5 separate regions of the Homo sapiens genome follow, and all the other regions are linked to region 1. Evidence: promoter capture Hi-C in 16 types of primary human blood cells and fetal thymus (Javierre and others, 2016). All regions are on one chromosome and are shown on one strand. The core of a region is centred on a gene start or on the middle of the fragment in contact, and the rest is flanking DNA. Distances in the headings are between cores, read along the strand shown. Region 1 holds the start of PNRC1 (proline rich nuclear receptor coactivator 1). Region 2 holds the start of ZNF292 (zinc finger protein 292). Region 3 holds the start of RARS2 (arginyl-tRNA synthetase 2, mitochondrial). Region 4 has its middle 41 kb from the start of AKIRIN2. Region 5 overlaps BACH2 (BACH transcriptional regulator 2).

Evidence for each region. Contacts are between HindIII fragments. The CHiCAGO score rates a contact against its expected background, and 5 or more counts as called.
Region 2: a contact is called between a fragment that was not itself captured here and the fragment with the promoter of PNRC1 in region 1, in 8 of 17 cell types (non-activated CD4 T cells, fetal thymus, naive CD4 T cells and 5 more). The highest score is 14.2, in non-activated CD4 T cells.
Region 3: the fragment with the promoter of RARS2 here is called in contact with the fragment with the promoter of PNRC1 in region 1 in 3 of 17 cell types (total CD8 T cells, total CD4 T cells and fetal thymus); the score reaches 8.4 in total CD8 T cells.
Region 4: a contact is called between a fragment that was not itself captured here and the fragment with the promoter of PNRC1 in region 1, in 1 of 17 cell types (M0 macrophages). The highest score is 6.7, in M0 macrophages.
Region 5: a contact is called between a fragment that was not itself captured here and the fragment with the promoter of PNRC1 in region 1, in 1 of 17 cell types (fetal thymus). The highest score is 5.4, in fetal thymus.

The regions. Positions count from the first base shown.
Region 1 is chr6:89,078,662-89,084,231 of GRCh38, forward strand. It overlaps PNRC1 (proline rich nuclear receptor coactivator 1), which reads left to right and starts at 2,090. Exons shown (of 2, transcript NM_006813.3): 1 at 2,090-2,773; 2 at 5,092-5,570. The coding sequence starts at 2,234. The coding sequence ends at 5,535. PNRC1-DT (PNRC1 divergent transcript) reads right to left here and starts at 1,919. Exons shown (of 1, transcript NR_187250.1): 1 at 1,501-1,919. RefSeq lists enhancers at 1,195-1,284, 2,803-3,763 and silencers at 1,715-1,924, 1,975-2,124, 2,515-2,894. The HindIII fragment of the contact is 1,477 bases long and covers 743-2,219 here.
Region 2 is chr6:87,151,448-87,157,017 of GRCh38, forward strand. ZNF292 (zinc finger protein 292) reads left to right here and starts at 4,118. Exons shown (of 8, transcript NM_015021.3): 1 at 4,118-4,312. The coding sequence starts at 4,145. It overlaps LOC124901355 (translation initiation factor IF-2-like), which reads right to left and starts at 3,800. Exons shown (of 2, transcript XM_047419630.1): 1 at 3,529-3,800; 2 at 1-1,855. The coding sequence starts at 941. The coding sequence ends at 261. RefSeq lists enhancers at 341-410, 642-1,142, 3,656-3,815, 4,086-4,425, 4,937-5,544 and a silencer at 611-730. The HindIII fragment of the contact is 3,192 bases long and covers 1,795-4,986 here.
Region 3 is chr6:87,587,360-87,592,929 of GRCh38, forward strand. It overlaps RARS2 (arginyl-tRNA synthetase 2, mitochondrial), which reads right to left and starts at 2,628. Exons shown (of 20, transcript NM_020320.5): 1 at 2,563-2,628. The coding sequence starts at 2,598. It overlaps ORC3 (origin recognition complex subunit 3), which reads left to right and starts at 2,776. Exons shown (of 20, transcript NM_012381.4): 1 at 2,776-2,833. The coding sequence starts at 2,810. RefSeq lists enhancers at 1,758-2,719, 2,483-2,712, 4,093-4,593, 4,594-5,094. The HindIII fragment of the contact is 3,839 bases long and covers 483-4,321 here.
Region 4 is chr6:87,740,622-87,746,191 of GRCh38, forward strand. No RefSeq gene overlaps it. Among named protein-coding and RNA genes, the nearest start is that of AKIRIN2, 41 kb to the left of the region's middle. RefSeq lists an enhancer at 1,638-1,787. The HindIII fragment of the contact is 1,568 bases long and covers 1,244-2,811 here.
Region 5 is chr6:90,274,836-90,280,405 of GRCh38, forward strand. The region is part of intron 1 of BACH2 (BACH transcriptional regulator 2); the gene reads right to left. Among named protein-coding and RNA genes, the nearest start is that of BACH2, 19 kb to the right of the region's middle. The HindIII fragment of the contact is 423 bases long and covers 2,899-3,321 here.

The DNA of each region.
Region 1 (5,570 bases), core at 840-3,339:
GGGAGGCGGCTGTTGCTGTAATCCGAGATCATGCCATTGCACTCCAATCTGAGTGTCAGAAAGAAACCCCGTCTAAAAAAAAAAAAAAGTTTATAAAGTGATTGGGAAGCATTTTTCTGGATATGCAATCTGTCCAACTTTGCCATCAATCATAAAACGTTTCATTGCTTACTAATTGCTTACTACTCCAAAGCTGAAAACTATTGTAGAGGCGGTGAGGATACAGAAGTGTAAGATTACTGTGGTCTTCTAATAATGTAGAATCTAGTGTGGCAGGGCTGGACGCGGTGGCTCACGCCTGTAATCCCAGCACTTTGGAAGGCCGAGGCAGGCGGATCACGAGGTCAGGAGATCAAGACCATCCTGGCCAACAAGGTGAAACCCCGTCTCTACTAAAAAATACAGAAATTAGCTGGGCGTGGCGGGTGCCTGTAATCCCAGCTACTAGGGAGGCTGAGGCAGGAGAATCTCTTGAACCAGGGAGACGGAGGTTGCAGTAAGCCGAGATGGCGCCACTGCACTGCAGCCTGGCCACAGAGTGACACGCCGTCTCAAAAAAAAAAAAAAAAAAATTAAAACTTTTGTCTTGCAGTACCTGGACTGGAGATCAAATTCTGATGTTAACTTACCGTTTGATCTTTGACAAGTCCTTTAGCCTTTCTAAGCCTGTTTCCCCAGCTGTAAAATGGGAATAAAATACAGTACTGTCCCTCCAAAAAGAAGCTGAGGCAAAATCAGGCCAAGCTTGAGGACTGCAACCCAGGACCATAGATTCAAGCTGCCCTGAATATACACTCGGATTAGCAAGTTACAAGTAGGTTTTTAAAGGAAAAGAGGCAGCTCCTAAATTGTTTACCAATTTACATTAAAATATCGTGGGCTCTTGACTAGCTATACATTGTTCTTTGTATCTTAAATTTCAGAAACTTAAAGATAATGCGTAGGCAGCTAATCAGGAACAAAATGCCTTTAAACAATTGCCCCAGGCATTAGTAGTGAAAGGAAGAGAATGACAGCCTGCCTACTTCGCAGAGCTGAGGTCTGATCTATTTTTCTTAGTACCTATTCGTAAGGGTTGTTGTGAGGTTAAAGTGAGACAATCTATGTAAAGAACAGTTCCTGGAACATAAATGCTTGATAAATTATGGCCACAATTCTTTTTTGTGGTTGAGCAGTGCGGGGAGATCGCGAAAAATTTCTATTTACGCGCAGCTAACAAAATACTCTATGTTGCAGAGCTGTTTCACTTTCTCCCTTTGAGACGCAAGCCGGCTTGCCGCCTCCTCAAGTAACCAGGCACAATGTTCTGATCCCAAAGTCTCACAATCCTTCAAGTATGAAATCAGTAAAAACTCCAACTTCCATTTATGGATTTACGGAGAACTTTTTATACATCGAGGGGCTAATTCAATCAGTAAGTCACTTTGATTTTTACTCTGATCACCGAGACTAATAAGCAGCGATGCCGAACCAAGTAAATGAAAGAATCGTGAGCCATACTTCAGTAGATAAAATTTAAATGTAGACTGATTTTCTTCACGATTGCTAGGGAAGAAATCCTTACAGCGTACTTAGAAATCTTTGTTTTAAAATGATAACGCTGTTATGTTGGGCTGAAAATAAAACGGATACTTCCCCAAGGTCAGCAGCGGAGGAGGCAACCGTGGCCTTGCCAAAGTCATCCCCTCTTCCCAGCCCCCGTTCTTCCTGCCGCCCTCCCCCTGCCCCCTCCCTTCCCCACCCCCATCAACAAACTCCGCCGGGACATTTCAGTACCACCACTCCCTAGCCCGGCGAAGCGCAGGGGCGTGCTGGGGAGGAGTAAAGAGGGTGGGGCGGAAACCCAATTTCATTGTTCGCGGGACCGATTCTTCCCAAAAGAGCTCGCTGGCAGCGCCTGCGCAGTGCGCCCTCTTTGTGCCAGGCTGCAGCAAGCTGGTTGTTTGTGTGTGTCTACCCGAAGCTGCGGAGGCGGAGCGAGGGGGCGTGGCCTGCCTTGTCGCACTCTAATTGGGCTTTCGCAGGAAAGTGGGCGGGCGCGGGGCGGAGCTTCCGATAACAACACTCGGAGCTGGGGCTGTGGCTATTTGTTGCTGCGCCGCCACCGCCCGAGTCATGTTCCGCGATCTTCTCAGGCTCTCCTAGCAGCATCCATCGCCGCCACCCTATCTTCACTGGCTTCATTCACCTTCTCCTTCTCTCTTCGTTGCTGAGCGACAAGCTTCCTAGCGCTATGACTGTCGTCTCCGTCCCGCAGCGGGAGCCGCTCGTCCTGGGTGGCCGCCTTGCGCCGCTTGGCTTTTCCTCCCGAGGTTACTTTGGGGCCCTCCCGATGGTGACCACGGCTCCGCCTCCTTTACCCCGGATCCCGGACCCCCGGGCACTGCCCCCGACCCTCTTCCTCCCTCATTTCCTAGGGGGAGATGGCCCGTGTCTGACCCCCCAGCCTCGCGCTCCAGCAGCTCTGCCCAACCGCAGCCTCGCCGTGGCGGGAGGCACTCCTCGGGCAGCGCCGAAGAAGCGGCGAAAGAAGAAGGTGCGGGCCAGCCCCGCAGGGCAGCTGCCCAGCCGCTTCCACCAGTACCAGCAGCACCGGCCGAGTCTGGAGGGCGGCCGGAGCCCCGCGACCGGCCCGAGCGGAGCGCAGGAGGTCCCGGGCCCGGCCGCCGCCTTGGCCCCGAGTCCTGCAGCCGCAGCCGGCACGGAGGGAGCCAGCCCCGACCTTGCCCCGCTGCGGCCCGCGGCTCCCGGCCAAACCCCCCTCAGGAAAGAGGTGAGGCCGCCAGGGGGCCGTTGGGGAGTCGGGCCCTTAGACGGTCGCGGCCGAGCTCTGGGGCTGCAGACCCTGCACCCGGGGGGTCGGGCGGGTGGGGGCGGGGTGGGGGGGGCGGCTGTTTACTCGGGAGGGAAGTTTCCGTGACGCCCGCTCCATTCTTGCTTTGGGGGAAGAAGGGGGAAGGGGAGGCATGCGCTGGCGCTTCTGATTGGCTCCCAGGAGTCGGCCAATGAGAAGCGCCGCTGCGCCCCAGCAACAGCCCCGATTTAGAAGGCTGGCGGCGTTCCAGGGGGTTTCGGCGTTCCGGGCGCGCGGCGGGGTGGGGGCAGGGACAGGGCCCGCGGGAGGGCTGACGTCAGCGCGCGCTACGTGCCCGGCGCTCCGGCGCCCATGAAGGAGGCGAGGCCGGGTGGGGGCAGCTGGGGAAGGACTGGGCCCGGCTTTCGGCCTCCCGGCTATCGGGAGCCCCAGTCCTAGTCGGTGAAACGCGGAGACGGCCTCTAACGTCCCGCCGTAGGGGGTGGAGTGGGCTCCGAGCGGCTGGGTTTCGTTTGGTTGGAGTTGTGCCAAAATGTGAGGTGCCCGGTGTGGGACGCGCAGTCCAGTTGGGGCTCTGCCCGCCTCGGGCCTGACCTACTTAGTGGTTCCAAGTTAAGAGTTGGCAGGAGCCGCACAAAACTGATTTTATTACTTTTGCCACTGTGGTACTTCGTGTTAGTGTGTCCAGAGTAAGTTTTCAGAAGAGTTAGCAATTGAATTGACTTAGCCCGTCTGATTGCAGTGCTATTGCATTAGGATAAAATGGATAGAAGTTTAAATAGGATTAAGTCTACGAAATGATTTCAAAGTCTTGTCAGAATAACGTTTTATGGACTTAAGTTCAATGACTTAATCTTCGTAATAATGAAATGAAAAAGTTCCCGTTATTTAGTGAAGAATGTTGCATTGAATTAGAGATTTGCGGTTTATCTGTGCCCTTGGGAAAAAATTTGCCCACCTTGTTTCTTTAAATTATCGTCTCAATGTCTCCCTTTTAAAATTCCACGACTTTTGAAATATCCGTGATTACCTAAAAGCTTTTGTGCTTGTTTCCTGGCCTGTTTTCTAGAACAGGTACTAACTAGGGAGCTCTGGCAGTGAACCTTATTGACGTGGAAAGTTGTGGTCCTCTTTCGTGTCGTGTCTTGCTTACTACCGCGTTACAAGTGTTGGTAGTGCAGTGATCTAGTGGATTACCTTACGCTTTTCCATCCTTTCAAGACTTCCTATAAGGCCCACTTAAGTTGGGAAAGATTAAGGTGAGTGAAGCAGCGTTCTTGAAGCAGTTACTAAACCAGAAAGGAGGTACACAGCAAAGATTGTTTCTGGCACTCGTATTTGGAAGAGAGCTCATTAGTCTTCCTTACAGTTGTAGAAAGGTGGACTTGGGTTATTTCAGACTTTTTTTAGTTTGACATTTTAGAACTGGTTCACGTTGCATACTGGTAACTAGCAGTGGTGATTAACTGCATTTTTAGTGGCGAACAAGAGTGAACTTAAAAGTCAAGGGAAATTTAAGTTTTTTGTTGTTTTTTTTTTCTTGAGACAGAGTCTGCCTCTATCGCACTCCAGGCTGGAATGCAGTGGCACGATCGATCTCTGCTCACTGCATCCTCCCCTTCCCAGGCTGAAGGGATCCCGCCTCAGCCAGCCTCCCGAGGCGCGTGTTACCACGCCGGGCTGATTTTTATATTTGTAGTAGACATGGGGTTTCGCTATGTTGCCCAGGCTGGTCTCGAACTCCTTGAGCTTGAGCGATCTGCTTGCCTTGACCTCCCAAAGTGCTGGGATTACAGGCGTGAGCCACCATGCCCAATTAAAGTTTTTGTAATTTTCAGCTTTTATTTTAGATCAAGGAGGTACTTGTGCAGGTTTGCTACATGGGTATATTTCGTGATGCTGAGGTTTGGAGTATGAATGATCCCATTCCAGGTAGTGAGCATAGTACCCAGTAGGTCCCCATCTCTCTCTCAACCCCCCTTCTAGTAGTGCCTAGTGTCTGTTGTTGTTCCCCACTATATCCATGTTGTACCCAGTGTTTAGCTCCCAAATTCACTTGTAAGTGAGAACTTGCGATATTTGGTTTTCTGTTTCTGCATTAATTCGTCTAGGGTAATGGCCCCCAGCTACATACGTGTTGTCACAAAGAACATAATTTTGTTCTTTTCTATGGCTGTGGGCAAACTTAAACACAACAAAACTAGATATGTGATATGAGGTTCATAACTGATTTTTATCTAGAAACTATATTTACTTTTGTGTTCTTGTCTTTGTAGGTTTTAAAATCAAAGATGGGAAAATCGGAGAAAATTGCCCTTCCCCATGGCCAGCTTGTTCATGGTATACACTTGTATGAGCAACCAAAGATAAACAGACAGAAAAGCAAATATAACTTGCCACTAACCAAGATCACCTCTGCAAAAAGAAATGAAAACAACTTTTGGCAGGATTCTGTTTCATCTGACAGAATTCAGAAGCAGGAAAAAAAGCCTTTTAAAAATACCGAGAACATTAAAAATTCGCATTTGAAGAAATCAGCATTTCTAACTGAAGTGAGCCAAAAGGAAAATTATGCTGGGGCAAAGTTTAGTGATCCACCTTCTCCTAGTGTTCTTCCAAAGCCTCCTAGTCACTGGATGGGAAGCACTGTTGAAAATTCCAACCAAAACAGGGAGCTGATGGCAGTACACTTAAAAACGCTCCTCAAAGTTCAAACTTAGATTTCAGATTTCAGTATGTGTGTAAAACATAATTT
Region 2 (5,570 bases), core at 2,141-4,640, 1.9 Mb before region 1:
CCATGTTTTCTCTGCTTTTGGAATCACTTCAACATGTGGCACAGCACCTGCCTTAATATTTTTAACATTATATTGACTCCTTTTGCTGTTCCTCTCGAAGAAAATGTCTTCCTTGGAAAAGTGTGGTGTCTAACCGATCCCAATAGCGCTTTAACCCATGCTCTTTCTCTTTGCATCTGTGGGCACAGCACTGGTTCCCAGACTCTGGGGGTGGGGGTGGGGGGTTTCTACTGGACCAAACCCAGGATAGACTCCGTCCCTCACTTCTGAGATCCAGAGGCTGCCTGTCTGTGGCTGGGCTGCCCAGCCCTTTGGAAGAGAGTAGGTTGATGGAGCCTCTTCGAAATCAGGCAGCAGTGCCCGCGCCACGGCCTCTGCAGGACAGACTCCAGCATCCCCGGGGTGGGTTTCCGGAGGCCCCGCTCCCCGCCGCGCCCTGGAAAGGCTCCAGAATCTCTCGGCCTGGAGGCCCCTGGCGGCCTCTGCTCCCAAGCGGGGAGTCGCAGCCAGGCTACAGCGGGCTTGATCCTCAGTGCTGGGTGGAAAAACCGCGGCGGCAAACGCCGGGCCTGCAACTGCTGGGTGTCGGCGTTGCTGGTTCGCGGGCGGCGGCGGCGGCGGCTCCGCGACAACAGAGGACGCGAGCAACCGGCGCAGCGCCCAGCAGGGCCTTGGCGGGGTGGAGGGGCGCAGGCTGGGTTAGCGGAGCAGAGCGGACCGATCTGGTGCCCTCCGTGGCCCGAGGCCTGCGGACCTTCTCCGTTCTCCGGCCCAGGGCGAGAGCGGGGCAAGAGACAGCGCCCCGATAGTGGCGCACGCTCTCCGCCATCCCCGGGCCTCGCGCTTTCACCTCGCGTGCTGGGGCGAGGGCGGGGCTGCGGGGTGTACTGGGTCGGGGGTAGGAAGGACCTGCCAGGCCTTAGCCCTGAGCTATCCGTCATCCGCTAACGCCGCGCTCCCTGCATCCCTGGCTTGGCCCCCAGGCTCTGCGCCGCTTGTCTGTAGCAGACACAACTCAGCTCCCTTACTGTCCTCAGGCCCGGCTATTTCAAGAATTCCAGAAAAAGAGTGCACCGGCGTGTGCGGGCCGGTGCTGCCCGGAAAACCCGTGAAGCAGGCACGCACGGCCCGGATGCAAGCACATCTGTCCCCTCCCCCAAAGGTCTCCCCAGCTTTATTGATCGCGTGGGTGCGGGTAGGGATCTAAATTTGTCTCCCAGATTTTCTCTGAAATCGAGTCTCTTGGGAGTGAAGGTCCATATGATTACACCACGTCCTTAGCAGTCGCGTTGTGTTCAAAATGGGCATGGGTGCTCGCGGCGCGGATACTGAGTTCCCCAGAGACGCGGAGTCTTTTGCCCCAGGGGCTTATTCTTGTTTTCTCAATGGAACAGGTCTTCGAATCTCCCCAGGAACATCTCAGTAAGTAGGGGTGTGCGTGTTTGTGTGTGTGTCAGTGTGTGTGTGTAAATGGTTCCTATGAGCTGACAGTTTGGTATTTAAAGAACAAATGGACATAAGCACAGAAGTCATGACTTTTCTATGGATAAGATTGAGATTTCTGAGATTTCCAAGACAAGGTTGACCTGTCACGGGATAGTATTTTCAATCCTTCTCATTAAAAAAAAAAAAAAAAAAAAAAGCCTGCACTTATGTAGAGATTCGTTGGACATTCTTGTTAGTATCTGAGATTACTTTGATGTTCTAAGTTGAATACAGGCATGCATTTTCATAATAGAACATTTGTCATATCGTATGTATTCCCATTGCAGATCATTTTCCCACAAAACTGTAAGCTTCTTCAAGGCAGGAAGAGCTTTTATTCGCCTCTGACTTGTCCCAAACCAAGTAGTGCCTGCAAATATCAAGTACACAATAAATGAGTGTTAATTACACCACTCACCCCCAATCCTTACATTTCCTGTAGGCTCTAAATATTTCTATGTGTGTGCAAAGGAGAAGAAATGGAGGAATGTGGACATAGGGTTCACAGATACTAAATAAACATAAAGACATGGCCATCCATGCTGATGGACATTTACCAGATAGTAATGGTGCTCAGAATCAATTTGCTAATCAAGTCTCCATAGTTTTAGGGTTGTTATGTGCAAGAGGTAGGAATGACCTACATTATCAGGCAATTCTCTTAAAAATCAATATCTGGATATATATGTCTCCCACCCCTCAACCCCCATTTTTTCTTTCTTTCTATAGATTAGGTGTGGTGTAAACCATTATACTTGAAGTGGAAATGAGCTTGCTAACCTGTGATACCTTACCTTGGATTTACGGGTACATTTGGCTAACCTCATATTTCCCTTTTTGCATTTTTTCACTGGAATCCTAAGATAACATAAACTGGTGAAACCTGGTTTGGGTATCTAAAATACTTAACTTGGGAAAGTGAACTGAAAATATTAAAAATCATTAGCTGCCTTAATTGTTCCTTTTTCAACTCAGTGATACTATTATATCCTCTCTTCTCAGCCTTTGAATGTACTTCCCAGTCTCTTCCATGAGTAAACATTTGAAGATTAAACATTTGAAGATTCTACCTTGTTAATATGTAATATTAACTGATACTGTTTTTCATAAGGGGTTTAACTGTGCCTGGTCACCTTATATAATGCCGCTTTAAAAACATCACCATCACTGATGCGTTATAAAACATTTATTCTGGACAACATAGTATGTAGAACACTTTCCATTAATTACTAGAAATCTTTTGAAGAGGACGCTGCCCACAATGGGAAGTATTTTTATTTTAGATCCTTGTACTAAAAAAATATACTTCACTCAGAGTAAATGAAAAGACTGGGTGCCTCATCAATATCATTGTTTCTAAATTTCTGTAGACTATTCAGTTGCAAGAGAGATAGGTCTTTTGTCTAATGCTCTAACGGTAAAAAAAATATTAGTTTTATTAAGAACTTTAGGGTTAAGCTCTTGGATTTTTGTAGCACCTCTTCTACTCTTTTGTTCAAGTGCCAAGTATTAATTCTTTTCAGCTTGTAAGTAAAATGTGGTTCAGAATGCTACCTCTATTTGTAGCATTAGGAAAAAAAAATGCTGTAGATATTTATAATAATTCTCGACAATATTGTTTTATTTTAGCATCAATTTCCTCTCCTCCGTTATGATTTTTAATGGAGTCCTTATTGGTGTTTTTTTTTTCCTTGACCTACTTTCTTTTCAATAGCTTTCATATATAGCCTGTTGTCATTGTTGGTGATTTCTGTAGAGTGTAGTAGAGTCTAAATCACGGTGAAACAGAGTAGTTAGTTATCACTTATTCTAGAAATGTTTTCGTGGTTTAAAAGTCATCTGGTCTGTTCATATTCTGACTTCTTTTAAACTATGCTTTTCATGAATTTGCTCCGTTCTCCAGACTGAGGATTGAACCTCATTCTGCTCTGACCCAATTGTTCTTTTCCTTTGTTGCCTCCACCCCCTAGAGAATGTGTTTCCAGGGGACAGGCGTTCTTGGTGCTGAAGAGGAGGAGAGTCAAGTGAGACGAGATCTGGTACCTCACGCACTAGATCCCTCCTCTCCGGCCTGGTGAGAAGTCAGAGACAATTTTGACAGTTCATAGTCCTGCCTTGGCTCTCACGCTTGCGGTCCATGGGCGGGTTTTACCTTCTCTCTCTTCCTCTGCTTCTGGCCTGCTTACAGGCCAACAGCAAATGCAGCCATTGCCCGAGACCACTCAGAACTCTCCCTGTGCCATCCTCTTGGGGAACAGGAGGATATGTCCGTAGAAGACTTCGTGGACTGGGGAAAGCCACGCCGGGATCGGGACGCCGGAGAGGGTCGCCCCTCCCTAGGCTTTTTCCCGTCGCGGCGCCCACGTGACCGAGAGCAGGCCTTCACCAGCCCGCCCCTTTCGGCCGCTGCTGCCCACTTCCCGCTCGGGGTAAGTAAACCGCCGTTTTCCGCACCGCCCCAACCCCGCCCTTCTCCTTTCCCCTTGCCTTCACCTCCCTCGGGCTCTCTCGCGCCACTCTCCCCACCCCCATATCTTCCCCATCGGGCCCTTTGTACGTGCTCGGCGCCGTGCAAGCGCGCCCGGCACGTGACCCCGCCGAACGTGGCATTGTGTTATCACGTGACCCAGGTGCGTACGCGACGGAGCGGGGTGTGAAGATGGCGGACGAAGAGGCCGAGCAGGAGAGGTTGAGTTGCGGCGAAGGCGGCTGCGTCGCGGAGCTGCAGCGCCTGGGCGAGCGGCTCCAGGAGCTGGAGCTACAGCTGCGGGAGAGCCGGGTACCGGCCGTGGAAGCGGCCACCGACTACTGTCAGCAGCTGTGCCAGGTGAGGGCGCCCGGTGGTCCCCTCCCCCTTTCCCCAGCTAGAGGGGGAAGAGGGCGAGCGAGCGCTAGGCGGCCGAGAGGTGGTCGCCGCTTCCTTGGCATCATCGGCGCCTCCGCCTGGGTGGGAGCGGGAGTAGAAGGAAGGCGCCTTTGTGTGGCTGCAGTTGTGGCGGTTGTTGTCGTCTGCAGCTCCTGGCTGGGGGAAGGGAGTTGCGGTCAAGGCGGAAAATCCCCCCTCCCCTTTCCTTCCCTGAACTCGGGACTGCGCGGTCCCCGCGGCTGAGGAAATGTACACGGTGCGGATTGGAGAGAGTAGGAGAATGGAGGCCAGGTTCTCTTCCTCCTCCTCCTTTTATTGTGCACTGGGGATTACCGCGCCTCCCGCCTCTGCGCCTCTGCTTCCCACTCCGACGGGCCTCCGCCCCCACTGGTTTGATTCCTTTGCCTTCCCCTGCTTTCATCCGTCCCGCCCCCCAGCCCCGGCCCTGTCCTGGCTGTCTCCGGGCCTTTGTTGTTCGAGTTTCGCCTTAGGACTGAAGGGGCCTTTGTTGATGTTCGGAGGAGCAGTCCCCGCCGACCCCTTCTAGTTGAGCTAGACGTTCGGGAGGGGGTGCTTGGCGGAGGTTGTCCCCTCCTGCCCATACTTGCTTGCTTGGTGCATCACTTCTGTGGTAAAGCTTTATCTCCTTAGTGTAGAGGAGCTGTGCCTGTACATCTGTCTCAGGTTGAGTGTCCTTTTGGGGCGGTTTTTCCAGAGTCCGTTTCTCATTTGCTTTCGCCCTTCGAGGAGTATGATTTCCACTATCCTTTCTGTCCCGATCACCCCCTCACCCCTGTTTCTTGGAGTCCTTCCTATTTGGCTTCCTGATGAAGTGGGAGAAGACTGAGGTTCATGTGGATCTGTGCTTTGGGTAGTTTCAAATCTTTTCTTTGCTTGCCCAAGGGCACTGCTCACCAGTGACTGCATTCTAACCAGAATTTGGAATGTTAATAACACTGTTTGCTAGTGATGAAAATCATTTCATCCATGGTGAAAATCGGAGAGTTTGGGACTACATTTGCACTTCATTACGAGCCTTACACTTAGGTTTAAAATTTCAAGGTAGTGTTGCTGGCTCTGGTGAAGACTTTGATTTGATTGTCTTGAGGAGGAAAAAGAAGACACAATTTACACAGGTCATATTTAGAGTTAACTTGTGAGTGTATCATTACAGAGAATTCGTTTTGGAAAAATACTGATCTTAACGTAGAACAATGGT
Region 3 (5,570 bases), core at 1,378-3,877, 1.5 Mb before region 1:
CTTTTTTCCCCATGTCCTAACGTATTGAAAATATTATTATTTATCCTCAAGTTTCAGATCATTCCCCAATGACTCTATATTCAGAGAAATACATATATATCTGCATAATTTACACTGCTGTATAAATCCATTAGATTCTGTTCAATGATTGGACTGTGCTTCTTGCTTTCACAAAGAGCACAGTATATAGGAAAGATCTAATTTTAAAGTTAGAGTTCTGTTCATAAACCAACTCTACAATGTATTGATGATGTGGCTTTGGGTAAGTTATTTAATCTCTGTGGATCTCAACTGACTCAATTATATAATAAGGTTAATACTTCTATATCACAGGGTTGCCATGAGCTTAAATGTGAATGTGTAGTAACTAGCACAAATATATACTCAATATATTAGTTCTTGTTTCTCCAACTTATCTTTTTCTTTTTTTTGAGACAGGGACTCACTTTGTCCCCCAGGCTGAAGTGCAGCGGTGCAATCAAAGCTTGCTAGTTTCAGCCACCTGGGCCCAAACGATCCTCCCACCTCAGCTTCCCAAGCAGCTGGGACCACAGGTGTGTGCCACTACACCTAAGTTTTGTTTTTTATTTCTTTATAGAGATGGGGGTCTCCCTATGTTGCCCAGGCTGGTCTTGAACGTCTCAGTTCAAGGGATCCTCCCACCTCGGCCTCTCAAAGTTCTGGGATTACAAGTGTGAGCCACCATGCCTGGTCCAATTTACAGTCTTTACAAAGAACACAGCCTTTGCAAAACTAAACACAATTTGTTTCTCATCATGGCACTATCTTTACTTAAGGGCTAAGAATGGAAAACGTCCACCCTTACACACAGCTTAGATACTAAGGTCCAAAACTACCTTCCCTGATATGGTTTACTGTCTACATTAACATGAATTTATTATTTTTTGTCTTCATTAGCATAACTTTACTGTTCTAGAAGACTTCTGCCCAAATAACTTAATCATTCATTATAAGAACTTCATGAGAAATCTATTAGCTTTTCACGTTTTTTATTTTTATTTTTTGTTTACAGGGTCTCGCTCTGTCACCCACCCTGGAGTGCAGTGGCACAATCATAGCTCACTGTAGCTTCAAACTCGTGGGTCCGTCCAAGTGATCCTCCAGACTCAGCCTTTCAAGCAGCTAGGACTACAGAGGTGCACCATCATGCCTGGCTACTTTTTAAAAAAAATTTTGTTGAGACGGGGTCTACCTATGTTGTCCACGCTGGTCTCGAACTCCTGGGCTCAAGCCATCCTCCCACCTTGGCCTCCCAAAGTGCTGGGATTATAGGCATGAACCACATGCCAGGCCTATTAGTTCTTCCAATAGAAAACCTCAATAGTTTATGCCTTAAGGCTTCTTGCACTCTTTGCTTTTCCTATCAATCTTAAACCGCTGTATCAGATCAGAGTCCAACCCTAATCAAGCCATCTTCCTCCAACACCCTCCTACCCTCTCCCTCTGAAAGACCAGCCTTAAGCCATACCCATCAGTAAAATCTGACCTTGCTTTCCCAGTTTAATACACTACCAAAGCTCTCAGTGGTGTTCTTCCTTATCCCAGTGAGCAATAAATTCAGCTGTCTTAACAAAATGTCATGTTGGTGATATTTGGCGAATTATCACCGGACAGGGCAGTACATCTATAAACATAAAGACAAGGCAGAGGGATTTCCCCACAAATGTCTAGAAATACTGTAAAAATGAGCCAAGATAAATTATACACCAGGCTAATTACGTCCACTAGTACATCCATTAATCAGAAGGAAATGGGTTAGCCAAGACCACAATAGAAAGTTTCCTTGCAAGGGTGGCCAATGAGTCTTAAAAATTCTTTTTGATTAATTCCACATTTATACTGCAATTTTGCCCAGCGCGGTGGCTCAGGCCTGTAATCCCGGCTCTTAGGGAAGCAGAGGAGGGAGGACAGCTTGAGCCCAGGAGTTTGAGGCCTGCCTGGGCAATACGGCGAGACCCCGTTCTCCACAAAAAGGAAAAACAAAACAAAGCAATTATATTGCAATTTTGTAAGCCCTTCCTCACAACAGAGCTGTTCAAATACGACCCTGAACCAAGAAAAACTGAGTCTCAGATAGCTCTTATATCTTTGGGCGTTACCAAAAACAATTCTAGGGTAGGCTGCCTAAGTGACTGCAAGAGAAATAAGCAGCTTTAAAATGAGGTCCTTCTGAAGAACAATCCAGATCCATCATCAATGTCACTAAAGTGTAAAGAACACTAACTTCTATGGGGTCTAATCATGGTCTAATGACTTGCCGCCACCCAGGTAAAGCATTCATAGCTGTGGGGTGGGAAGGAGAGAAGAAAGCACCAGGTACCTTTCAAAGTTTACTTTTCACCGAGACAAACTGATCCCAGCCGACGCTCCACAGGACTTCTGAAGCTCCACCAGCTCCAGAGAAGGGGGAGGAGGTGGTAGAAACTAACAGGATTCCGTGGGACCCACCCTCCAGCTGACTGAGGACTGGCCCGCAGCGGTGAAAGGCCTTTGGGGTCCCTAGCTCCTCAGGGACTCCTCTGCGCGCTCCGGGATCCATACCTGGCAAGCAATAGCGCGGCGAAAGCCGCACGCCATGTCCACCTCTACGGAAGTGCGCCGCAGTCCGCCAGTTCCGGCCTCGCCCCACCTCCTTATACGACCCGCCTCCCCGCGCCGGAAACCCGCCCCGGAGGGTGATGCCAGCCAATCAAGGAGCCGTGTGGCTCGCCACTAACCTCTGCCCTGCAGCCGCGAGGGCGCGCGGGAAATCCCGAGTGCATCTGGAATACGCAGAGTCAGTAAGACCATGGCTACGTCCTCGATGTCTAAGGTATGTGGTGGCCGATGCGCACTGTGGCTCTACCGCTGCCTCATTCCCCTTTGAAGAAGGGATGAAGCCGAGGTTACGTAGGCATCCCTTCCCTGGCTGGAGAGGAGGGAGGGAGCGGCGTACTGAGCTGAGGCGTCCTTGCTCCAGATCAGTTGAGGCCAACTTTGCTTGGGGAGCGAGGACGCGGATCTGCCTTGTGGTATGGCTAGGAGGATTTTTAAGTTCTGGTTGGTGGAGGTCGGATGTCCTGATGATGTGGCCCAGTCTCTCATTTTTCCATCTCACAAATACTGTGCGCCAAGCACTCCGTTAGGTACCAAGATGCAGTGGTAAACAAAACAGATTCAGTTTCTGCAGTCAAGAAAGTCGGTAAACATAGATAAACTGACGATCACAAATTTTAAGTGTTAGCAAGGAAAAGAGTTCTAGGCAGACAACAGAAGAGTGGGAAGAACCTAATATAGGTTGTCGGGGGTTAGCGGAGGCTTTTTGGAGAAAGTGACCCTTTCGCTGAGACCTGAAAAATGAGTAGAAGTTAGGTTAAGGATTAGGGCGAGGAGGGCAGAGAGAACAGCATGTTTCTTCGGCCCAGAAGATAGAAATAAAATGGCATATTAGAGGAATTTAAAAATCATAATCAGAAAGTAGACAAAGAGTGGGAGCGTCATGAAAAATGAGAATGAAAAAGTAATGTGGATGCGGGTGTGTGTGGTGGGATATCTTATAGACCTCCTCATGTTGGCTACCTAGATGGCAAGAAATTGCAAGACATAGTGTAGTTGGTAAGAAGATAAGCCCTAGAGCTGTATTGTCCAATGTGTTAGTCACTCACCACATGTGGCTATTTAAATTTGAGTTAAAATAAAGTAAGATTAAATAAAAATTCAGTTTCTCCGTTGCACTAACCACATTTCAAGTGCTCAATCATCACATGTGGCTGCAGCTACCATTTTAGATAGTGCAGATATAGGACATTTCTATCATTACAGAAAGTTCTGTTGGACAGCGCTGTTCTGGACCACAAAAAGTAAGACCTTGAGTTCTATTGTAAGTGCAGCGGGAAGCCCCTGAAGTTAAGCTGTCTGAGAAAGCTGAAAAATGCACATGAAGAAGCTACATTCTCCCTATGTTAAAACAATGGATTGATGAAGAAGGCTATGTCATGGATCTGATTTTTTATTTTGATTAAAACGGTTTATGAGAAGCAGTGCTTTTAAAGACTACATCTCAAGGAAAAAGGACAAGCCCTGGGGTTTAAGGTTATGCTAGTAGAGATTCAAAGGTAGTATTTTTATTAGAAATGGTACTGGTTTTATTTTGTCCTGGTTATAATGTTCTGTAGGTTTTGAATGGTCTATCCCTTAATCCTGTTGATTGCATAAGCACCTCTTATTTTTATGTATCTTGCAGAAAGTAAGATTTTTCAGGAAAGCATTTTTGGTATTATAACAAATGTCTGTATTGGGATGAGACCTTACATGAATAAGAAGCTTTAAGAACTATTTCATGAATTTATGGAACTGCAAGCTTTTTTTCTTTTTCTTTTCTTTTTTTTCTTGAGACAGAGTCTTGCTCTGTTACCAGGCTGGAGTGCAGTGGCGCGATCTCGGCTCACTGCAACCTCCACCTCCCCGATTCAAGCTATTCTCCCACCTCAGCCTCCCGGGCAGTTGGGATTACAGACATGCCCCACTACACCCAGCTAATTTTGTATTTTTAGAAGAGACAGGGTTTCACCATGTTGGCCAGGCGGGTCTCGAACTCCTGACCTCGAGTGATCCGCCAGCCTCGGCCTCCCAAAGTGCTAGGATTACAGGCGTGAGCCACCACGCCCGGTCCTTAAACATATCAAAACATTTTAGTGTCTCTTTCATCGTGAAATTTTCTGGCTGTTGGCCTTCCTCTATCTCAAACACCATCACTTGACCAGCAGTTCCAAATGGTTAACCATGTTACTACCACTGCCCTATATTAAGATCCTTTCTGATCACTCCTCATGTCTTGCTCCTTTGAAGCTCCTTTTTCCTTTACTGAATTGCAGGTGGATTTGGAAAGGAGGTAATGACAGGTTTGTCATGGTATCACATGATTTTTCTAAATATGTATGTGATTTCGCACACTTCTGCTAGTTGCAGATATAAGAATATAAGGCACAGGGCTGTGTGCAGTGGCTCATGCCTGTAATCCCAACACTTTGGGAGGCCGAGGTGGGTGGATCATCTGAGGTCAGGAGTTCGAGACCAACCTGACCAACATGGTGAAACCACATCTGTACTAAAATACAAAATTAGCCTGGCATGTTGGTGGGCGCCTGTAATCCCAGCCTCTCAGGAGGCTGAGGCAGGAGAATCGCCTGAACCCGGGAGGTAGAGGTTACAGTGAGCCAAGATTGTGCCATTGCACTCTAGCCTGGGCAACAGAGGGAGACTCTGTCTCAACAATAGCAGAAAAAAGAATCTAAGGCACAGTTCTTAAATGGGAACATGTAATCCAAATGGCTACTTTATAGTTGCACAGCGGTCTTTAACACTATCCTGAGACAACTTTTCCTAGGTATCGTTCTTTCATTCTGTCTTTTATTTTCCATAGAAATCGAAATATTTAAGAAGTTATCCATCAGGCCGGGTGCAGTGGCTCATGCCTCTAATCCCAGCACTTTGGGAGGCCGAGGCGGATGGATCACGAGATCAGGAGTGCGAGACCAGCCTGGCCAACATAGTGAAACCCCGTCTCTACT
Region 4 (5,570 bases), core at 778-3,277, 1.3 Mb before region 1:
GTCTGTATTTGTATCAGCCTTGTATCTGTACAGCCTTGTATCTGAAGTATTGCTGCCAAGATGTTTAATCTACATTTTTTTTTTTGAGACAGGGTCTCACTCTGCGCCCAGGCTGGAATGCAGTGGCATGATCTTGGCTCACTGCAACTCTGCCTCCCGGGTTCAAGCGATTCTCCTGTCTCAGCCTCCCAAGTAGCTGGGATTACAGGCACCTCCCACCACTCCTGGCTAATTTTTATATTTTTAGTAGAGATGGGGTTTTGCCATGTTGGCCAGGCTGGTCTCGAACTCCTGACCTCAGGTGATCCGCCCACCTCAGCCTCCCAAAATGTTGGGATTACAAGCGTGAGCCACTGCACCCGGCCGACAAATAGTCTTAAAATGGGAATACTTGGCCGACAAATAGTCTTAAAACGGGAATATCTGGCCGGGCGTGATGGCTCACGCCATCTCATAAAACAAAACAAAAAAGAAACTGGAATACCTAATATAAAGGTTTTACTACACAAGAGGAAGGGGAAGATAGCTACAATCAGTATTTTATGAGCACTTACCACACGCTAGGCACCATGCCACGTGTTGGAGATACTGCAATCAACAAGTGGCCCCTGCATAGTGGAATGTACTGTCTGGAGTGAAAGACAGACAAAAACATGCAAACAGACAAATAACACAAATAACATGAGTTTGGAGAGTAATTCCTCTGATGGAAGAAACAAACAAGCACTACGGAGAAGAACAACAGTTGTGATGGTCAGAAAAGGGATCTCCTTGAAGGCACATGCAGGCTGTGTCTTATAAGAGAAGCAGGAGTCAGCCAGAGGGAAGGTAAAGAGAAGAGCTATCTAAACAGAAGCAGCTGTGTGCACAGAACTCCTGGGGGGGAGATGGAATAAGGAAAGCCAATGTGATTCAGGTGTAGTGAGCAAGGAGGACTGTGACACAGGGTGAACTAGAGAAGTAGCTTTCAGGTCACGGCAAAAAATTTAATTTTTTTCCCCCAAAGTGCAGTGAGTAGCCATATTCCACAATATTCTTTTTTTTTTCTTTTCTTTTGTAGAGATGGGGTGTCATTATGTTTCCCAGGCCTGTTTTGAATTCCTGGTCTCAAATGATCCTCCTGCCTTGGCCTCACAAAGTGCTGGAATTACAGGCATGAGCCACTGCACCTGGCCAACGATATTCATTAATTTAAGGAAATTCCACTTTTAAGAATACTTAGGGCATTTGCTAATACACTAAAAGCTTAAGAGTCACAACTACATGTCTTACACTCCAGCCATACTCAACCACTCACTGGGACCCTTTCAGTTCTATTTGGATGCCTCCCACCTGCCAATAGAGCAAATTGATACTCATCTGGGGTATTAGGAATCTATTGCTGTATAACAAATTATCCCAAAAGGTAGTGATCTAAACCAATGATAAACATTTATTACCTCACAGTTTCTGGGGTTGGGAATTCTGAGTGGCTTAGCTGTATGGTTCTAGTTCATGGTCTCACATGCAGTTGCAGTCAAGATGTTGGCTGAGGCTGCAGTCATCCAAAGACCTGACTGGGACTGGAGGAGCCACTTCCAAGATGGCTCACCCACGTGGCTGTTGTGGGCAGGAGGCCTTACTTTCTTGCCATGTAGTCATCTTCATAGATCTGCTTGAGTGTCCTCGTGACATGGCAGCTGACTTCCTTCACAGTGAGTGATCCAAGGAAGAGAGTAAACAGGAAACCATAATGCTGCTGATAACCTCATCTTTGAAGTACACTGTCACTTCTGCCATTTTCTATTAGTGTCACTAGTAGACAGCACAAAGAAGTTGACACCAAGTGCTGTGGCTCATGCCTGTAATCCCAGCACTTTGGTAGGCCAAGGCAGGCAGATCATCTGAGGTCAGGAGTTCGAGACCAGCCTGGCCAACACAGTGAAACCCCGTCTCTACTGAAAATACAAAAACTAGCCGAACATGGTGGTGGGTGCCTGTAATCCCAGCTACTTGGGAGGCTGAGTGTCACTAAGTCCAGTCCACACTCAAAGGGAGGGGAGTTAAGTTCCACCTCTTGAAAGGAGAAGTATCTAAAAATTTGTGAACATATTTTAAAACTACCACATTTGGTGACCCAGCTCAAATGTCATCTTCTATGTGAAGCCTTTCTTGATTTTCCTGAGCAGACCTAGTCATTCTCTTCTCTCAGTTTTCACAGCATGTCATTTCTATTCCTTAAAGCTCTTGTCTTTTTAACTGTAATCAATTGATTTACATGCTTGTCTTTCAACTAGCCTGGAAGATGCTTCAGGCCAAGATAATGTGTTTTATTAATCATTTGTATCCTCAATCTGCTCATTAGTGAAATCCTAGGAACACTACGAAATACTACCTTCCACCACTCCTAACACAAGTTTTTAAAAGATCCCTTCGCACTTAATGCTTTTCTTGCTTTTTCATATTCTTGGTTTACTCTCCCTCTCCCTTCTGAACTAGAAGACAATTTCAAAAATAAGACTGTATTAGTTATCATTTTTAAAAATTCTTTATAATGACAAAGACAATGCTCTGCATTACAGTAATAGATTTTTAAAAGAATTAAATAAGAGAAGCCCCTTTAGAGTTAAAAAAATATTTCTAACTTCTTTAATAATCAGAATATCTAATGGCTATCTCGGTTCTATGTAAACCCTAACAAGAAAAAGATAACCTCAGTTCATAATGCATAAAACATGCAGCACTGAGAAAAAAGACCTCTGAAGTACAGGGGTGTTCTATTCTGTTTTGTTTGCTTCCTTATTGTTTGGGAGAGGAGACAGCTAACAATGAAGCTTTCTTTAGCATTCAGTGGAAAGAACGTCAAGAAATCTTGTTTTTATTTTCTCTTGAAAAATGAGAAGCCATATTCCCTCCCATAGTTACAAAGTATCATCCTGTCCTTGATCTCTGTTTCTAGAATGTTCTCAATTCAGATGGTTTTTATCTAGATTCAGTTGGAGGCCTGGATGGCCTTGGTTCTGATAACTAGAAATCTTGTGACAATCTCAGAAGTCTTCTGGGGCAGATTTCTTTGGTTTTGGGACAAGATTTGACCAGCCCTGAATCTGTGACAGGTCTGGGAGGGGCAGGGGAAGAAATGAGCAGAACCTGGAACAAGGTCTACACCTCCGCCCCCTTACAACTTGACTAGGAAGTTCTTTCTGATGGTCCCTCATTCAAGAGTCAAGATTACTACACATTAAAATTTTAAAAAGACAATGGAAGAGCTCCCAGCAAAATAGCCTATGTGGCAGTTTAGAGGGTGACTTTCTTCTCAAAAAGAGAAAGTGGATGTAAACCAACTCTTCTCCTTTCTTTCTCTGACCTGTAAAGGCAGAACTGCCTGGACAGGACAAAAATGCCTGATTTTACTGAACAATCCTATTTCTTTCTCTTCTTTTCTCTTTCTTTCTTTCCTTCCTTCCTTTCTTTCTTTCTTTTTTTTCAAGACAGAGTTTCGCTCTTGTTGCCCAGGCTACAGTGCAATGGCACGATCTCGGCTCACTGCAAACTCCATCTCCCGGGTTCAAGCGATTCTTCTGCCTCAGCCTCCCGAGTAGCTGGGATCACAGGCGTGCAGCACCACACCCAGCTAAGTTGTATTTTTAGTAGAGACAGGGTTTCTCCATGTTAGTCAGGCTGGTCTTGAACTTCCGACCTCAGGTGATCCACCCACTTCGGCCTCCCAAAGTGCTGGGATTACAGGCATGAGCCACTGTGCCCGGCCATGGACGATCCTATTTCTTTTTTTCTTTTTTTATTTTATTTTTTGAGACAGAGTATTGCTCTGTCACCCAGGCTGGAGTACAGTGGTGCGATCTCAGCTCAAACTGCAGCCTCTGCCTTCTGGGTTCAAGTGATTCTCATGCCTCAGCCTCCCGAGTAGGTGGGATTACAGGCACCTGCTACCATGCTAGGCTAATTTTTGTATTTTTAGTAGAGACAGGGTTTCACCAAATTGACCAGGCTGGTCTTGAACTCCTGGCCTCAAGTGATCCACCTGCCTCGGCCTCCCAAAGTGCTGGGGTTACAGGTGTGAGCCACCACCCTCAGCCTGGATAATCCTATTTCTTTCCTTTTTTTTTTTTTTTGAGACAGAGTCTTGCTCTGTTGCCCAGACTGGAGTGCAGTGGTGCAATCTCGGCTCACTGCAACCTCCTCCTCCTGGGTTCAAGCGATTCTCCTGCCTCAGCCTCACGAGTAGCTGGGATTACAGGTGCACGCCACCATGCCTGGCTAATTTTTGTATTTTTAGTAGAGACTGGGTTTCACCATGTTGGTCAGGCTGATCTCAAACACCTGACCTCGTGATCCACCTGCTTCAGCCTCCCAAAGTGCTGGGATTACAGGCATAAGCCACCACATCCTGGCCGACAGTCCTATTTCTAAGAAGGTGATCCACTCATGCTGAATCAGATAACACAGTAAGCTCACAGTGGGCCCTCAAACAATGGTCATTGCTCTGATAGTTATAATGCTAATGTTGGTTGGGTTCTCTGATACTGGGACACCAGGCTGTGATCAAATCCTGGGGGACCTCTTCAGCAGGAGAGCAAATAGGTTCTGAAGGAAGAGTCAGAGAATCTGGATTTCATGGCATTTATTTGTCCTGAATGCATTCAATTTTTTTTTTCTTTTCTTTTGAGACAGGTTCTCACTCTTTTACACAGGCTGGAGTACATTGACATGATCATGGCTCACTGCAGCCTCTACCTCCTGGCTCAGGTGATTCTCCCACCTCAGCCTCCCTGGTAGGTGGGACTACAGGCACGTGCCACCATGCTCGGCTAATTTTTGTATTTTTTGTAGGGCTGAGGTTTTGCCATGTTGCCCAGGCTGGTCTCAAACTCCTGGGCTCAAATAATCCTCCCACGTCAGCCTCTCAAATTGTTGGGATTATAGGCAAAAGCCATTGCACCCAACCCACATTCACATTTTACATGTCTCAATTAAATAGCCCACCAAATTTGGAAGGAAGAACTAAGCTTTTAAAAATGTCTGAAAGAGGTACATCCTGGGAAAACTCTCCCTCCTCTCAGTATGGAGGAGGCTTCTAAGGGAGGAGGTCACCTCCATCCTTCCTAGAGAGAACAGAAGACACAGGGGTGTTTGTTTCACCTAGGAGATGACAGCACAAATTACTGTTTTCTCTGTTAACAAATTTCTGAAACATGTTAGTGCCTTGTCTGTTGCCTGAAAGGGTGGAGGGCAGAGTATAAAACTGCAAATTGCTAGTTAGGTATCCGGTATTCCAGTTTTAAGAAATCTGGAATTCATGATTATGTTATGTTTAATTTCAAATTTAATGTTAAATCTGGAAAATCTAAAATATTTGTGACAACAAATTAAATGACAAATGAACTTGAAAATAAATGCAGAAAGATCAAGAGTTAAAAAAAAATTCAGTTAATCCACTGTCTGTTTACCTTGTGGCTCTCTTTTCTAAGTTAACTGGAAAATATTTAATCACATGCCTTTAATTAAAGCTCTGTACCCGTGGAGAAGCACAAGTAGGGTTTGTTTCACTTAGGCAAGAATGTCCAATGGTT
Region 5 (5,570 bases), core at 1,860-4,359, 1.2 Mb after region 1:
CATAATCTTTGCATCAAATACCTGGGGCACTGAAGAGGCTGAAGCAGCAAATCCTCTGGTAGAGGGTGAGGACCAAATGGGGGTACCTCAGAGGCTACAGTTCCTCCCCCTAGTGTTCAATGACAAATGGAAACATGTCACTGGGTCCAAACGCAGGGAGGACTAGTCTTTGCTTTGGCACCAGGCTAGACAAAGAAAAGACCCCTTGCCCCGTGACCCCACATTGTCCTACAAAGGAAAAGGCTGGATTTTGTTGATGAATGCAATTCACATGTTTGGAGCAGTGTCATTTGAAAGGACTGCTTCAGAAATTCATGCAAGTCACATAAGTGGAGAGAAAACAGGAAAAAATTAAGAATGGCTGTTTACAAGTCACTTCTAAAACTTTGCTTTGTTCTACTTGAACAATTTTTATCATCATTTAAAGCAGTTAAATTAAAATGCACCTGCACTGTAAATCGTGAGAGAACATACCTGCTCTTCAAATATGACTTGAAAATTATTTGGTTTCTCCCCTACCTCCCCCTACCTGGGATGCTCTCATTTTACATTTAATTTGGAAAATTAGAAGAAAAATGGAATAAGCTCAAATCCTAACCAAAATTTGTTTTTACTTTTAAAATACAACCATTTTAGAATTTTTAAATAAATGTAAAATATTTTATTATTTACTTAACTTTTACCTTCAGGGTTACATGTGCAGATTTGTGATATGGGTAACTTGCGTCATGGGGGTTTGTCGTACAGATTATTTTGTCATCCAGGTACTAAGCCTAGTACCTGATAGGTTTTTTTTTTTCTGCTCTTCCCCCTCCTCCCACTCTCCACTCTCCAGTAGGCCCCAGTGCCTGTTGTTCTGGATGGGCGTAGCGGCTCACGCCTGTAATCCCAGCACTTTGGGAGGCCAAGGCGGCCTGAACATCTGAGGTCAGAAGTTCGAGACCAGCCTGGCCAATATGGTGAAACCCAGTCTCTACAAAAAAATTAGCCAGGCATGGTGGTGTGCACCTTTAGTCCCAGCTACTTGGGAGGCTGAGGCAGGAGAACAGTTTGAACCCAGGAGGCAGAGGCTGCAGTGAGCCGAGATCACACCACTGCACTCCAGCCTGGGTGACAGGGCTAGATTTCGTCTTAAAAAAAAAAAAAGAAAGAAATCATCAATGGGCATTAAAGAAAAGTGTAACTTTTAAACCTACTTTCATAGTTCAAATACACCCAGTATTTGGAGGTCAGAGTAGTCACACTTCACTAACTTTATAAAGGAGAGGCTTTCAATAAATGCAAGGAATGTCTACCACAGCAATACATGTGTAAAACGTTTCATCTATGACAGCCATGTTCTAAATTAATGTTATATTTCCTACTCTGAAATAATTTTAATTTATGACTAAAAATGGTAACAAATGTTCTTTTCATTGAGGCCCAAGAAAGTATGAGAGTATTTATTCACATATTCTCATTTCCCATGTAACATGCCTAGGGCCATCCTGAATGAGAGCACAGAAAATGTGAAGGATTTCTCTGCCTAGTCTGCTTAAGATCAACAACACCTATAAGTCTAAACATAAAACACACACCTTTAAATGATCACCATTAATGTTAATAAGCATTAAAGGTAGACACTGAAGTCTTTTGTGTTGGCAAATCCTAGAACTACATTTTCATTCAGACAGGTTGCCTCTGGATAAACGTCTAAGATTTTTTCTAAAAACAAGTTATGGTATTTATAATTGCCTTCTTTAAAAGAATGCAAATTCTTTTGCCTACAGATTACGCTAAGCAAAAGAGTGAGAGAGAGAGGAAATTTCAGTAAAATTTTGAGAACCATAGCTTGCATTATAGATTTTGGAATGTACCTTCCTGCCATTTAACCCAACCCCATTTTCTTATTTCCTAGTAAATACACTCCCCAGTTATTCATCCCTTATTATACCCTGGGACAATGGTCATTTTGGTACCAATCACACCTTAGTTTTCCACTATCACCTGCTAAAAGTTCTCTTGAAGAAAAAAAATATAACTGTAAGAGAAACCTGAGTGATATAACGTCAGTATTTTAACATCCTAACCCTTTCAAATTCTCTCTATATGAGAATTGACTATTTTCATCCTCCCTTGAAAAAATGTGTTCGGGCATTAAAATTCCTCTACCTTGGACCTTTTCATAATGGCTGCCTTAGTATTTATTTTGATATACTATTCAAGACACCAACAGTTTGAGGTTTTCACTTCTTTTCTTGAAGAGTGTCACAAAGTCAAATTTCAGCCTCATCTACAAGACATTTAAAAATTACACTGCTTTCCTGATTTAACTCCTAAATATGCCCAACACAAATAATTATGTTGTTCACCTGAAGATATGTTCTAGAATCTTCACATTGCTACTCATAATGGCCCCAAACTGGAAACTATACAAATTAATAAATAGTGGTATAGTCACACAATATAATACTATATAGCATGGAGAATGAAAAATCAACTACCATAGTCAATATGGTGTCATGCACAATATGAGTTAACTGTGCATATTATCGAGTGAAAGAAGTTAGACACAAAATAGTACATTCTGTATCTCCATTGATATAAAGTTCAAAAACAGGCAAAGCAAATCTATGCTTTCCCAAGTCAGAGTAGTGGCTACCACGGGTGAAGTAGTTACTGGAAGGAAGCCTGAGGGATTTCTAGGGCGCTGATAATGCTGTGTCTTAATCTGGGAACTGGTTACAACAGCGTGTTCACTTTATGGAAATTCGTCAGTAAGATGAATATATGTTATATGCATACTTTTCCCTATTTATATTATCATTCAATTAAAAAGAAATAAAATTAATCAGCTTCTCTTAAGAAACAGACTTACAGGAATGAAAACTAGTGTGTTTCACACAGTAAAATGGAAGAAGCTTAAGAGCTAGGTTCAAATTCCAGACTCTACCATTAATTATTCAATCTTAGCTTCTCTGGCTTCCAGTTCTATAAAATGGAGCCAACAGCAAAGATCAAATGACATAACACTGAAGGCATTTTAAGCAAGAAGAATATACAAATGCTGAGCACTACTGCCTGAAATACTAATAATGTACTTATCCGAGAAGCCTTTAAAGTTACATGGTTCTACACAAAATGTTAGTATAAACATAACTGGCAAGATAATATTATCAGTTTTGCCATTTAAAGAACTTCCTAACAATCAAAGATATGCAACATTTATTCTACCCAAAGTTAAAGTGTCCTGCCCTAACCTCTACTTTGAGACACTTGGTAAATAATTTTCGGAAGAGTGTCAAGATACATAATATTATAGGAGACGATGTCAAATATTAAAGCTTCAATAATAAGTGGACTAGAGAATGATTCTACTCACAGCTCACAGTTCAATCCATCTCTTCTTCTCACTGACTTCTCAACCATTCTGTGCTTTTCCATGTTTTCCTCCTTCTTCCCACTCTACCCTGCCTCCTACCTGGCCATGCCCCCTTTCTCTCTGCCCACTGAAATTCTACCCACTCGTCAGTGCCCAGCCAAGGCATTCCTCTGGTGGGACACCCTTCCAGGCCATGGAGACCTTTCCAGGCCGTGGAGACCTTTCCTTCCTTTGAAGCACTTTTTTTAGTGCCTCAACCGTCTGTTTGCAACAGTCTTGGACCTGAGCATTGAACAGCTATGTATCTCTCAAGCCATGATTTAACAACTCATGTGCTCATATCTTGCTTCCCCAGTAGACTATATGTTTTCCCTAAAGGCAGGGACCTGTGTGATACTTATTTTAATCCCCCTTCAATGCTCTGTACATTGTAGATATTAAATGCTTGCTACCCAGTGCTCTACTTTGTGGGTTCAAGAAAGCAGTAATCTCTAAAAGTAGGGCAAAGGTGCAGACTGGGATTTCTTCAAGTAAGTGGATTCTGTCGGTGGCACCTCATCTCTAAAACTCTCTGTTAAGCTCTGATCTTCTTTTCTCTGAGAGCTCTCAATCACTCTAGACTTTAGAGACTAAATCAGCACTTTGAAATCAAAGTATAAGGTGAACCACATATAATTTTAAATTTCTAGTAGCCACATTAAAAAGTAAAAAGGAACAGGCCAAATGTATCTTAATATTTACTAGTTAATCCTATATATGTAAAACATTATCATTTCAACATGTAATCAACATAATAAAAATTATCAAGGAGATATATATCCTTTTTGTTTGAAAGCTGGTGTATATTGCACAGCACATCTCAACCACATTTCATATGCTCAAATGCCACATGTGGCTGATGGCTACCATACTGGACAGACCAGGTTTAGAGTTCAAGCTAGAATATGTGATTTCAAACCATTCTGAAAAAATCTAAAATCGAACAAACGCTATAGGAATATGCAGTAATCTTCCTAAATCTTGCTCTTAAAAAAAAAAGAATACGGCCAGGCACGGTGGCTCATGCCTGTAATCCCAGCACTTTGGGAGGCTGAGGTGGGCGGATCACCTGAGATCAGGAGTTTCAGACCAGCCTGGCCAACATAGGGAAACCCCGTCTCTACTAAAAATACAAAAATTAGCTGGGCACGGCAGCACATGCCTGTAATCGCAGCCACTCAAGAGGCTGAGGCAGGAGAGTCGCTTGAACCCAGGAGGTGGAGGTTGCAGTGAGCCGAGATCATGCCACTGCACTCCAGCCTGGGCGACAGAGCGAGACTCCGTCTCAAAAAAAAAAAAAAAAAGTCTACACTACTTTATCATTTTATAAAGCCCTCTGTCATACATTATCTCATCTAGATGACATACGTACAGCAAACATTAAGCCATAAAGTAGTTTCTTGGTCCTATATACCAAAAGAACACAGACCTGGTAACACACGCTTAAATCAAATAACTCACAGCCTTAAAGAACATCTATTCATGAGACGTTTTCTCCATTTTTACTATACAGTAAAGCATATTTTATCTCTTATTTTAAGTCATTTAAGAACTTTTTATTTTGGAATTTTATGACTAGCCCTTTAAATATTAGTTTTGCTAGGAACATCAAAAGAACAAGTGACTAATTACATAAAGGGGAAAAGATTAAATGAATCATGGATTCCACTTGAACTTCATCAGTTAAAAGGATAATTAGCAAAATATTTAAGGAAAAAGTAAATGAGCTTGTTAGTCATGGCCTTTTGAGGGGAAAAAGGTAAAACTATTTTACTTGCCTGATCTCAGATCTAGAATCTAAAAGATAAAGAGGTATTGTGGAGAATCATTATAAAATACTCAGACTTCAAAGGTTCCCATAAGGTCAAAATATGGACTATGTATAAGAAGAAAAAATATGCTAAATATAAAATCAATGTATTAATGAGATATATTTATTTAAATATCCCTTTTGAGTATTCTTAACAGGTATTCAGAACCCTAATCTGCTTTTGAATTTTCAATGAATATAAAAGAAAAATTTGAAGACATTAATGGAGAATTTTAAAGCAAGAATCTAATCCTGTATGTTAGAAAGAAGAAAATACAACGTTATGTAATATTTTAATTCTTATAGGTGCCCAAATACATAAGCAACCTAACTTTGACATCGGGGGAAACTGGACAAATC